Linked DNA regions of Homo sapiens: region 2 is linked to region 1. The links are contacts of gene promoters, found by promoter capture Hi-C in human tissues and cell types (Jung and others, 2019). All regions are on one chromosome and are shown on one strand. The core of a region is centred on a gene start or on the middle of the fragment in contact, and the rest is flanking DNA. Distances in the headings are between cores, read along the strand shown. Region 1 holds the start of ACTL7B (actin like 7B). Region 2 overlaps PTPN3 (protein tyrosine phosphatase non-receptor type 3).

Region 1 (5,850 bases), core at 2,657-5,156:
CAGGACAGGAAATTCCTACCCTTGCTTCTTTCCTTGGTTCCCACCTCCACTCTCTTTCTTCCAGAATCAGGTAGAAATCTCTAGTCCCTGTAGTTCCCCTACCATTCTCTTTATTTGCACTGAGCTTATGCATTTATATTCTCTACTATGACTCCATGGAATCTGAGAAGGGAGGGGAGATAAACACACAGGGTCAGGAGGTCATCTTAAGCTGGAAGTCACTGACCCGTGTTTTTCCACCAAAAATAAATCTCCTGCTGAATCCTCTGGTTAGCTTAAATAAGTTCATGTCAGGGATCTAGCAATTAGTGTTTTTACAGCCCCTGCCACATGAGGGATGCTTTTGAGGAGATGACCATGTGTTGGAGGGACTGAAGCAGTGACTAGAGACAGGAGAAGTTGCTGAAGATGTGTGGAGTGAGGAGAGGAGATAAGGAGGGAATGGGGTTCACACGTAGCACTTACTGCGTGTGTGATTTGGGATATATCACTTTCCCTCTATAAGCCTCAGCTTCCCTCTCTGTATTTCATCAGGCTTTTTACAATCACTTGGGTTACAAGCAACAGAAACTAATGCTAAGGAAGAAGTTGTGTTGAAGCAGCAAATATATATGAAGACATCAGTGTGGCAGGGACGTTGGCAACCTCGAAAATGCAGCCCCACAGAAAAAAATTCACATTCAAGAAAACACTTGTACACTGTGATGGCCACATGAAACATGTCTATTGGCCACCTTCAGCCTCCAGGCCTCCAGTCTGCAACATCCCTCTATAGGAAAGAGCCCAGGTTCCATGCCTGCTGCCAACGCCCTGTTTGACCAGGGGTATTCAAACTCCAGGCTAGATGCCCAATTCTGGACAATGGGGAAGGACTAAAGAGCAGGGCCTTAGGTGATAATGACTATGTCTGGTTCTTGCCCAAGTCTGCAGCCCCCAGCACTGGGCCCAGGACAGAGGCAGCCTCATGGGGTGCCCCAAATCAGGACCCTTTGCTTAAGGTAAGAGGTGACTCAGGGATATTTAAGTCTCAGCCCATCCAAGACTATGCAGCTCATGGATGTCTGATCCCATAGATGGCACCAACTGGGTCATGAACTCCATTGGAAGGTGAGGGTAGGGAAGGGGGCAGGAACCCACTCTTCTAAGTAGGCAGTTAGTCACCAGCTGAAATCTCACAAGCCTCCACAGCCTCTCCCTCAGCCCCAAAGCCAATAAGTGGACACCATGCCCAGCAACTTCTCCACTTACAACATTCCAATGCATCACCACTACCTTCTCACCACCGTGAACACTTAGCTCAGACCTTGACTCCCTACCAATGTGGTTGTCCATTAGCTGTGTGTGATTGCCAAGGGTAGAGACTGTGTTCTGCTCATTTCTCAGTCCCCAGCACTGGGCCTGACCCACAGTACATGCATGGTAAGTGCTTTGGGTTGCTGACTAACCATTAAGAACCATGTTTATACCCTTATGGGAATAATCCTGATGTGGATCAGGAGACCTGGGCTCAACCACTGGCATTAAGCTGGCTCTCTCCTCTCTGGTCTCAGTTTACCTATCTCTCTTTTTTTTTTTTCTTTTTGGACATGGAGTCTTGCTCTGTTGCTCAGGCTGTAGTGCAATGACGCAACCTCAGCTCACTGCAACCTCCGCCTCCTGGGGTCAAATGATTCTCCCTGCTCAGCCTCCTGGGGAAGCTGGGATTACAGGTACCCACCACCATGTCCAGCTAATTTTTGTATTTTTAGTAGAGACAGGGTTTCACCATGTTAGCCAGGCTGGTCTCGAACTCCTGACCTTAGGTGATCCACCTGCCTCGGGTTCCCAGAGTGCTGGGATTACAGGTGTGAGCCACCGCACCCAGCCCAGTTTCCCCATCTCTATAGCCGGGAGAGGACCCGATTTCTAAAGGACCTTCTGGTTCCTCTGACATCCTCTGGAATCAGTGGCTCTGCTTTGTGACTCTGGAAAAATAGCTGCAATTTTGGCTGTGGTTGAAAGGGGTACGCCCACAGATGGGTTGAAATGGCACTTCACACTCTGGAGATGCACTGGCACAGCCTTAGGCTCCCATATTGAGGGTGGCAGGCACTAGGGGGAGGTTAGGGAACCTGGAGTGATCAGGCAGTGTTAAGGTTGGGAGCACTTGTGAACAGCAGAAACAGGAGACTGGAGTCGGACACCCAGCTGTGCATCTCCTCCAACCTACCGCTAGGTGACCCAAGCTAGTCCCTTCATCAGAGCCAACCCCCTTAGTTGAGCCAGCGATGAGGAGTGTCTTTGGATCAGGTTTTGAACCTGGAGGTACTAATAAAACAGGAGGCCACTTTCTAGGCCCTGAGATGATGTCACTATCATGAGGCAGGCAGAGGGGGTGGGATCAGTATGGTAGCCCCCTTCCTTACAGCCCCCACCTCCAGTGCAAAAGGTGCTGCCGCTTCTAAGCCCGACTCCCCCCTACCCTCTGCTATCAGATAGAAGCAAGAAACCCAGACTAGACAAGAGCCATTTCAGAGTAAACCTTTATGTGAAATTCTGTAAATGTGTATAGAGAGGCCTGTGGCCATCTGTGCTGGAGGCCTTGTCTGTGGAAATGCCGAGGCTCAGCACTTGCTGTAGATGGCCACGCTGCCCCGCTCCTCAAACTCTTCCTTGCTGACCCAGAGCTGTTGGAAGGCCTGCAGGGAGGCCAGGATGGAACCGCCGGTCCACACGGAGGTCTTCCTCTCAGGAGCGGCAGCCACTGCAGGGCTGTCCCCGGGGCAGAGGAGGCTCAGCTCCCTCTGGAAGCGCTCGGGGAAGCCATCCAGCATAGTGCAGCCGCCACACAGTAGCACGTTGGCGGCCATCTCCTCCTTGAAGCCCGTGTCCTGGCAGCGGCCCAGGCAGGCAGCTGTGAGCTCCGGGAGGCCCGGCTGGGTGCTGCCTGCCAGGGAGGGCTGGAAGAGCATCTCAGAGCAACGGAAGCGCTCCTGGCCAATAGTGATGAGTTTGCCGTCCGGGAGCTCGTAGTCCACGCGCAGCTCCTCCGGGACCAGGCCCAGCTCCTCCTCGGGCAGGAAGGCCGCATAGCAGCACTTCTTCTTGATGTGCTCTATGATGTGCAGGTGGTCGTCCGTGAATGCGTGGCCCGCCTCATTGAGCAGCTGCATCAGGTAGTTGGTGAGGTCACCCCCAGCGTAGTCGGCGCGGCTGGTCAGGCCCGGCAGCACGTCGCCCTCGGATATGGGCACCACGTGCGAGACGCCGTGCCCGCTCTCCACCACCAGCCCCGAGGTCTTGCCGTAGGAGTAGATGGACAGCAACGACTGGGACGTCACGTGCATGGCTGGGATGCCGAAGGTCTCAAACATGAGCTCCGCGTACTTCTCCCGGTTGCTGCTGGGGCTGAGCGGAGGGTCGGAGACCAGCACAGCGTGCTCCTCGGGGAGGATCTTCATGGCGGTGCGGAAGATGTACTCCCAGATGTCCTGCACGCAGTCCCAGTCCACCACGATGCCGTGCTTCAGCGGGTTCACCAGCTTGAGAGGCGCCTCCGTGTTGAGCAGCTCATGGCCCACTAAAGTCCACTTGCGGGTGTCGCCAGCGTCGGCCGCCTCGGGGCAGCGTTTGCCCACGGTGGAGGAGATGAAGTAGGTGGGCCTCGGCTCTCCCGCGTAGCCGCACTTGCAGTACTGGGAGCCCAGGTCGATGATGACCGCCTTGATCTTGTGCACCTTCCTGGGCTTCATCTTGAGCTGAGTGGCCGCACCTGTGTCCCGGAGGCTGGCGTCAGGGCCGGGCCGTGTTCCTGCCTCTCCAGGGTCACCCTGAGCCGTGCCCAGGGGCATGGGGCTGTTCCTTGTCGCCATCTGCCTCCCTTGCTCCCCTTCTCACATCCACAGCCTAGAGCCCCCTGGGGAGAAATGAGATCCCCCACCTCCAGCAGTGCCATGACAACCACCCGGGATTGTGATGTCACTCGGGGCTGGTCCATTCAGGCAGCAGGGGAGGGCCTGGCTTTGGTCGGTTCTTGGTGTGTCACCCCCACCTCTCTAACTCAAGTTTGCTCCCGGACAGAGCAGGTGGCCGGCAGTTTTAGAAATCCAAGCACACTAGGGTCTCAGAGGTTTCTGCTCAGCCCCCTTGCATTTCCATGCCTAACCTGTTCACTACTGGACACCTTTCCTCTTCTGCTTCTTGGTGGAGAGGGCCTATTTGAGCCCCTCCAGTAAGGCAGGCACTGTACTAGTTACTTCACTTATGTTGTTCTGCAGGTAGGCAGAGCTGAGGAAATGAGGCTCAGAATTCTAAGGACTTGCCCAAGAGCAAACAGCACTTGGGGTGTTTGTACCTTAACCCAAATTCATCAAACTCCAATGCACCAGGCCTCCTTAACCGCCCCAAGAGTTCTTTCCTCCCTTCACTCCACATTTACTGGAGTATATAGTAGGTCCCGCCCAGTGCAGCCTGCCAGTGATAGATGATTAAAAACCCAGGCCACCAGCAGTGCCCAGTCTAGACAAGAAAATGGAATGGGTGCCGATGGGTTTGCAGGAAGAAGTCTACTTGGAGAACTCATTTGAGACAGGCAGTCAGAAGGTGCTCTAGAGAGGAGGTGATGCTTAAGTTGAATCCTGGAAGAGGTGTAGGTATTTGTCAAGTAGTTAAGAGGAGGGGAAGACATCCCAGGCAGAGAGCACAGCTTGAGCAAAGGCTCAAATGGAGGCACGGTGAAGAACTTCCCACAGTCAAAGTGTTTGGAAAAACAGATGAAGCTAGAGAAGTCACAGAGCCAAATAGAAAGGGCATCAAATGGCAGGAGTAGGTTTAGACTAAACTGAGGAGAGCCAGGGAAGCTATGAAGACTTTAAGCAGGGGAATGATCAGATTTGCCCTCTAGAAAAATGTTAGAAAGGGCCGGGCGTGGTGGCTCATGCCTGTAATCCCACCAGCACTTTGGGAGGCTGAGGCAGGTGGATCATGAGGTCAGGAGTTCAAGACCAGCCTGGCCAAGATGGTGAAACCCCATCTCTACTAAAAATACAAAAATTAGCTGGGCATGGTGGCGGGTGCCTGTAATCCCAGCTACTTGGGGGGCTGAGGCAGAGAATTGCTTCAACCTGGGAGGCAAAGGTTGCAGTGAGCTGAGATCGCACCACTGCACTCCAGCCTGGGAGACAGAGTGAGACTCCATCTCAAAAAAAAAGAAAAGAAAAATAAAAATGTTAGAAAGATCTGCATTGGGCTGTAATGTAGAGAATGGATGGGAGGGGCAAGACTAGAAACTGAGACCCGAAACGAGGCCATTGGAGAACTTCTGATAAGACTTGAAGGTGGCCTGACCTAGGGCTGTGAGAGTGTGGAAACAAGGAAGAGCCTAGTTCTAGAGAAACTTAGAAAGTAGAATAGAATCCAATCTGTTTTTTCCCCAACCATCCCTCACTTTAATCCAAGCTCTTACTCTGACATTTCAGGGCTTCCCTCATGGGCTCCTGTGATGTGGGATGTGAGGCAGAGGGAAGGATGAATCGCTTACTTGTACCCGGGCAAAGAAAGATGGCCTGTCATCCAGAAAGGACAAATTCACGAGAGTGCCAGAGGGACCTGCAACTTAAGCTGCCCCCTCCCACTCCAAAAATCAAAAAGGCAGTTTAGGGCTTTGGTGGTGAAGAGTCAACAGAAAAAGGGGAAGAGCGGCAACTGGGCCTGAGGAAGTTTTCTGGGAGAATTAAGATGAGCAGAGGTGCCTGAGGAATTGATTAGGCAACATGCATGGGGGAAAAAGAGTTAAGAAATACTGCCATGGAGCATGTAAGAATGCTAATGAGGAATGTGTGGGGATTTTTGTTTGCCAAATTTTTGTTTGTT
Region 2 (6,484 bases), core at 3,582-6,081, 600 kb after region 1:
ATCCCAGAAGGTCATAGTTACATTCTACTCCACAACGGGATACCACCCTTCTTAAGATGGAAGGTGGGGGTGGGGTGTCAGTTGTCAACCAGTGAATTTTAGAAGAGACAGACACACACTGTTTATTACTCATTCTGTGCTAAAATCTGCCTCCCTGTAGCCTCCACCCACTGGCCACAATTCTACGACCCTGCACATCTAGTTCCCCTTTTCCCATGACTACTCTTCGGACACCTGAAGGCAGCCTTCATTTGTGCCCGAGGCTTCTCTCCATCATGAATGCCCTACATTTCCACAGATGTCCCTCAAATGACAGGAAGGCTCAGCAGGAAGATTTTGTCAGCTCCCAGAGAAGTGGGCTTCTCTTCCACAGCGTATGGAAGTGGATGGCCAATGGCCAGGATGGGCCCTGGAGACAAACTCCTAGGTTGCACTGGCCGTAGGAAACCTCTCCCTCAAGTTTGGCCACTGGAGGGCTCTAATGTGCCCAGTGGATGCCACAAACCTGGGGCTCTAGTGTTATGGGAAGGCAGGAGGCAGGTGACAATCACTAGTTTAGGCAGTGCCGTCCAGACTTGGGGTTGGAACCTCCCAGTTGGTTGTACAATCAATTTAATGCGTCACAGTTGGCAAGTTTTTAAAAAAAGGAAGTAAGGCCGGGCACAGAGGCTCATGCCTGTAATCCCAGCACTTTGGGAGGCCGAGGCGGGCAGATCACAAGGTCAAGAGATCGAGACCATCCTGGCCAACATGGTGAAACCCCACCTCTCCTAAAGATACAAAAATTAGCTGGGCTTGATGGCACACGCCTGTAGTCCTAGCTACTCAGGAGGCTGAGGCAGGAGAATCGCTTGAACCCGGGAGGCCGAGGTTACAGTGAGCTGAGAGCGCGCCACTGCACTCCAGCCTGGGTGACAGAGCGAGCTCCGTCTCAAAAAAAAAAAAAAAAAAAAAGGAAATAAAACAGAATAGAAAACTTCAGAGTACCTGGTACTTACTATAGTTTTATAAAACGTTTGCTTCAGTAATTTATATATGTGTACTGTATTCTGAAACAAAATATATTTTTACTTTGGAGTTGTGATTTTTAAAAAACCCACTGGTTAGAACCACACACACGTACACATGTACATACATACATAATCACACACATTATATATAATATATATAAAAGACACATATACATGTAAACACACACATATTATGTTGTTTTTAAGACATCCCTTCAACAGAGCCTTTTTTTTTTTTCTGCAACAGGGTCTCAGTCGATCACTTAGGCTGGAGTACATGGCTTGATCATGGCTCACTGCAGCCTTGAACTTCTGGGCTCAAGTGATCCTCCTAGTTAGCCTCCTGAGATGCTGACACATGCACCACCACACCTGACTACTTTTTTATTTTTATTTTTGTAGAGGCAGGGTCTTGCTATGTGGCCCAGGCTGGTTTCAAACTCCTGGCCTCAAGTGACCCTCCCGCCTTGGGTTCCTGAAGTGCTGGGAAGCTCACAAGTATGAGCCACCATGCCTGGCCCAGAGTGTGTTATTTAGTACTGGCCTGAGGAAACCTTGGTAGGGTCATTTCAAACACATTCTTATAGATTTCATCACCAGCTCTGTGTCCGTCAGCTTATGAAGTAACCTGCTGGGCTGAGTGTTTCTATCCTATCCCCAGTTTACCAGCATAAAGAGCTGGTATGGGGAAAACTCAGAGGACAGGGCATGCTTCTGTGTGGTCACCGGATGTGTCATACCAGACACCTTGGACATTGGCTTAAAAAGTAATAAAAAATACAGTCAAATTCCCAGTGTCTGCTATAGTAGAGGGAGGAGGTGCACAAAGAAGGCAAAATACAGTAACAGATTAATATTTGGCCTTTCAACATATTACAAGTTAAAATGTGATGTAATTACTGCTAAAAAAAATTAACAAGGCAACACTCTGTGTCTGAGTTAATGCTGCCTCCTTGATTATGTCTTTTGGCCACGATGAATGTAAAACAGGATTCAATACTAAGCATCTATTGCTTTTTTTCTATAGCTTCCCTCCCTAAGAAAAATAAATGGATCAATAATAAAAGGGCTTAACGTTGCCACAGGGGAGGGAAAGTTTGTTTGTGCAGTCTGTGTTAAAACAGCAACAACTTTCTTGTGCTACACTCTCCTACTCCATTCCAATTACTCTGTCCCTCACACCTAGAAAAACCCCAGTACCAGCCCAGGGTTGGGAGAGACTCCAAGCCCTGAGGGGTAAACAACTCCTATCACAGCCCTCTTTCCCTTATCTGGTTCACATATTTCCTGTACTTGCTGATTCACTGAGAAGACAAGCTGAATCCAGCCTGCTCTCCTTTCTAACTCTTGCAAACTGGGGATCTGATAGAAAATTCTTATAACAAAGCTGGCCTGGTGACTCATGCCTATAATCCCAGCACCTTGGGAGGCTGAGGCAGGCAGATCACTTGAGGTCAGGAGTTTGAGACCAGCCTGGACGACATGGAAACCCCATCTCCGTTAAAAAAAAAAAAAAAAAAAATTAGCCAGGCATGGTGGTACCTGCCTGTAATCCTAGCTACTCGGGAGGCTGAGGTGGGAGGATCGCTTGAACCTGGGAGGCGGAGGTTGCAGTGAGCCAAGCTCGCACCTCTGCGCTCCAGCCAGGGTGAAGAGAGAGACTCCGTCTCAAAACAAAAAAAAAGAAAGAAAATTCTTATAACAAGAGATGTCTTGTTATCTTCAAGAGCCTTGATTTTAGCTCTTCAGAGACATCATGCTATTTGACCTGTGGATGACTATTTTACAAATTTGTCTTCTACATCCTGCCTACATTGGTAGAAAATGACTTTTTGTCCTTTGAGCACAGTGTGTTCAGCAGGCAGGAGAGGCCAGGGAGGTGGAAGGAGGTGGGAGAGGTAGGAGGTGGCAGATGGGAGTATGCTGGGAATGGCAGCAAATCAGGAGATAAGAGAAGCAGGCCCAAGACTGAAAACTCATTAGGTGATTAAAATGTCAGTATGTGCACCCCAGATTTTTACTTGGATCATCATTGTTGGTGTAGTTACACCCAAATGAAGTTATTTGGCCATAGTAATAAAATGAAGAGTACATTTTTAGTGGTTACTCATTTTTATACACTAAACAGAAAACTTTAAAAAAATGTTGTTACCTGGTTTGTTCTTGCTGCAGTGTGTTGGGATCAGGTATAAAAAATCTTACTCGAAAATGCAGGGTACAGGGGAAACCTCCTACAACATTTTTCAAAAACAAATTAAATTTTCCCTTTGACAAAGTCAATGTATGTAAGTTGCTTCTCTTCCATAAGTGATGCATTTTTTCACTCAACCATAGCTTTTTCCATTATAAAAGGGCTAATTTCAAACATGGAGTACATAAGTTAGTTGTTTCAGAAATCTCCAAGTCTTCAAAAAGTAAAACATTTATGCAACATCAGCACAGACTGAGTTATCATCTACTTCCTAGCACACGTTTATCTTAGGGCTGTGTTTAAACATTGCACTCCGTCATCTGTATTAGGAATTTAAAAAATCCTTAAATCGGCATTATTATGCAAAATATACAAAGAAATAATAGCCTGCGTTTGTGTAGCCATTTATAAGTTTCAAGCATTTTCATGTACATTCCTGCATTTCAACACCACCATGACTATGAGTGGGCTACGCTGCTACTGGTAGCCCCATTTTACAGATAAGCCAATTAGAGGTGACTTGCCTTAGGTCACACAGCTGGTGACAAAACCAGAATTAGAGTAATGAGATCTTTGATTCTGCTATACCACATTTCAAAATCATTTTTAAACTAGAAAATATCTCATGCTTTTAATGTAAAGTATATTAAGTTAGTATACTAGTAAATCACACAATGAACATATTCAAATACGGCTTTATGCATCAACATCTAGAGTCAATTTGCTTGTGTGGATAAAATTAGTCCATTTCTTCTCACAGAGACGGCAACAGGAGAAGATCAGATTGTGCTGCTAAGATCCCAAGATCTTCATGTCAATTTCACCATCATCCCTCAGTAAATATTCGCCAGCCCTATCTAGGCACTGAGCACTTTCTTGCTCTCTGCAACTCAAGTCCTTCTCACTAGCCTGCTAGATCTCCTCCTCTACCTGAGATCATCCTGAGCTCTACCCTCCCTGCTCTTTAGTGCTTTCTTTCTTCATCTGCAGCGTGTGTTCAAAGAATCCCTAACGGGGGTGTGCCCCTGAGTACACCTGTCCACATGTCTAGGTACCAGCGGATGGCGCTATGACAATCTGCACATCAGGGGAGAACAATGTCCTCCTGCTGCCTTGGGATGCTTGTTCACCTCCCCTCCCCCTCTTCTAAAACTTTTCATCTCTGCGCTGCAGGCATAGCCTCTTTTTCTTTCTGGCTGTCCCCTATCGTGTGCTTACTATTATCATAGAATGTCGAACCCTCTGGGCTGTCTGCACACTTGGCTGTGGGCTCCTTGAGGGGAGAGTCCAAATTTGATCTGGACTGGATTCCCAGGGCTTAGCCCAGCACCTTGCCACAGTCTGAGCTCAGGATACGTTCACCGAAAGCAGGAGTTAATGAGAGAATGAATGACAACACCTATTCATGCCTTGTGTGGACTCATTCCTGGGGACTTGGATGAGGCAGGTATTTGTCTGCAAGTGGCCCTGAGGCTCCCACAGGTACTTCTGAACGCAGAGGATGCAGCTCATGGGAGGGAAGAACTTTGAGAATCGGGCTCCCTGTGGGGGCAGCAGTGAGACGGGAGCGAAGGCCACTGTGTCTACTTCTTCCTGCCTGGGTGCTGAGGCAGGTGTGCGTGTGTGTGTTGGGGGGCATCCTGTGTATGCGCACCTGCGTGCGCAAATCCACTTGCCCTTCTCCACTCCGCCATGCACTGGCCACTTTTTGTGTGTGTTGGGCACCTTGGGGATGCAGAGAGAAATATAACAAGGGTCCTAACCTCAAGGAACTTGCAGTTCTGAGAGGGAACTAAAGGCAACTAACACAGATGAGGACAAGAGCATTCAGAACCCCAACACGGGTGATGGTAAATCTAAGAGAATGTCGAGGGAGCCACCCACAGTTTCTAGGAGAGGAAATGAGATCTGAGCAGCCTTGAAAAAAGGCAGGATTTCGACAGAGGGAAGTGGGAGGGAAAAGCATTCCCAGCAGATGGAACAGACTGAGGGGAGGCACTGGGAGGCCCTGCAGATCAGCCAGGTTGGTCTGGGGCATGAGTGGCATAAAGGGGAACAATGCTGGCAATGTTGGAACATCAGGCCGAGAGCAGATCAGGGCAGAGGGTGGACTATGGTGTGGCCTGACTGGCCACCGAACTGGGAGTTAGCTGCAGCACTGGGATTCACTCCTGAGAGATAAGCGGTAGTTTGGAAGACTTAATCTTTTATATTGGTGACATTACCTACTTATGGTTCGGTTTTCCGTGAACGCGACTATGCTGTTGGAAAGTATGAGGTGTTTGTGTTTGTCTATCTCCCTGTCTCTCTTGTCCACCCTGGCTCTCACATCGGGCTAAGTAAGGCCATCCTCCTTCCTTTTCCTTCCTTGAATACAGAAATGTGGGTTCCCTCGCTCTGAGCTGCCTACTCTCACCCTTCCCCTTCTTTCCCACAGCTGGGGCGGATCCTAGAGGGCTGATCTGGAAGCATCTCTGCTGACTCAGAAGTCAGACAGGGAGAAGTCGGCTCACTCATGACTCCTGGACACCCGGAACTACAGGTACCAGATGTCACAGGCACTGACGATTGGAGGGGAGAAACAGGCTGTGATACACTAACACCTAATGTTCGACTGAAATGAAAAGATCACACCAACCTTTTAACTGCTTCCTGATGGCTTTGCTTGCTTCCAGCCATCTCTGTTGGACAAGAAAACATAAAATATAAAAGCAAACCGTGAAGGAGTTCAGCACATTTTTTAAAAATGGCACTTACAGGAGAGTCCACGGAGTCGTCATCATGCTGTAAACCAAAATATTCCTTTTCAGTCACACCCAGGTGGTTGTGCACCATATCCAGAAGAACCTGGCCAGTGTCTTGTTTCTAGAACAAAGGAAATTATCAAGTGGGAAAAGTCTTAAATTAATTGGTGGTAAAAACATCTTTACTGTAGGCAAAAAAGAGTTAAAATATTCAGAAATGCTATGCACACACACTTCCCACCACAAGAAAAGCTTTAATAAATTTTAAGAAGCCACACAGCACATATGGGAAGTAGGGCTAAGAAAAATGACATCAACACAAGACAATACGAGTTTAATTTAATTGTCTAAGATTTCTTCCTTCCCCCTTAGCTGCAATTCCCAAGTGATAATGTCTAAATCGGAAAACTCAGCTCTCATAATCACAGTGAACTCCCTGTGGCCTCCAGTGGATTATCCACAATGAAATGCTAACCCCAGGGTGGTTTCTGTTGGCTCCTCAGGACACACCTGTGGCTCCTACTCCTGGAGAAGCCACC

Evidence for each region. The method cuts DNA at HindIII sites, captures the fragments that hold promoters and counts their contacts. A contact is called where the count stands out against the background at its distance.
Region 2: a fragment that was not itself captured here is called in contact with the fragment with the promoter of ACTL7B in region 1 in 1 of the 25 tissues and cell types used here (lymphoblastoid cells).

What each region holds. Positions count from the first base shown.
Region 1 is chr9:108,852,080-108,857,929 of GRCh38, forward strand. It overlaps ACTL7B (actin like 7B), which reads right to left and starts at 3,907. Exons shown (of 1, transcript NM_006686.4): 1 at 2,509-3,907. The coding sequence starts at 3,851. The coding sequence ends at 2,604. The HindIII fragment of the contact is 7,542 bases long and covers 3,537-5,850 here.
Region 2 is chr9:109,451,334-109,457,817 of GRCh38, forward strand. PTPN3 (protein tyrosine phosphatase non-receptor type 3) reads right to left here. Exons shown (of 26, transcript NM_002829.4): 3 at 5,959-6,066; 4 at 5,840-5,882; 5 at 3,163-3,241. Among named protein-coding and RNA genes, the nearest start is that of PTPN3, 44 kb to the right of the region's middle. The HindIII fragment of the contact is 4,671 bases long and covers 2,497-6,484 here.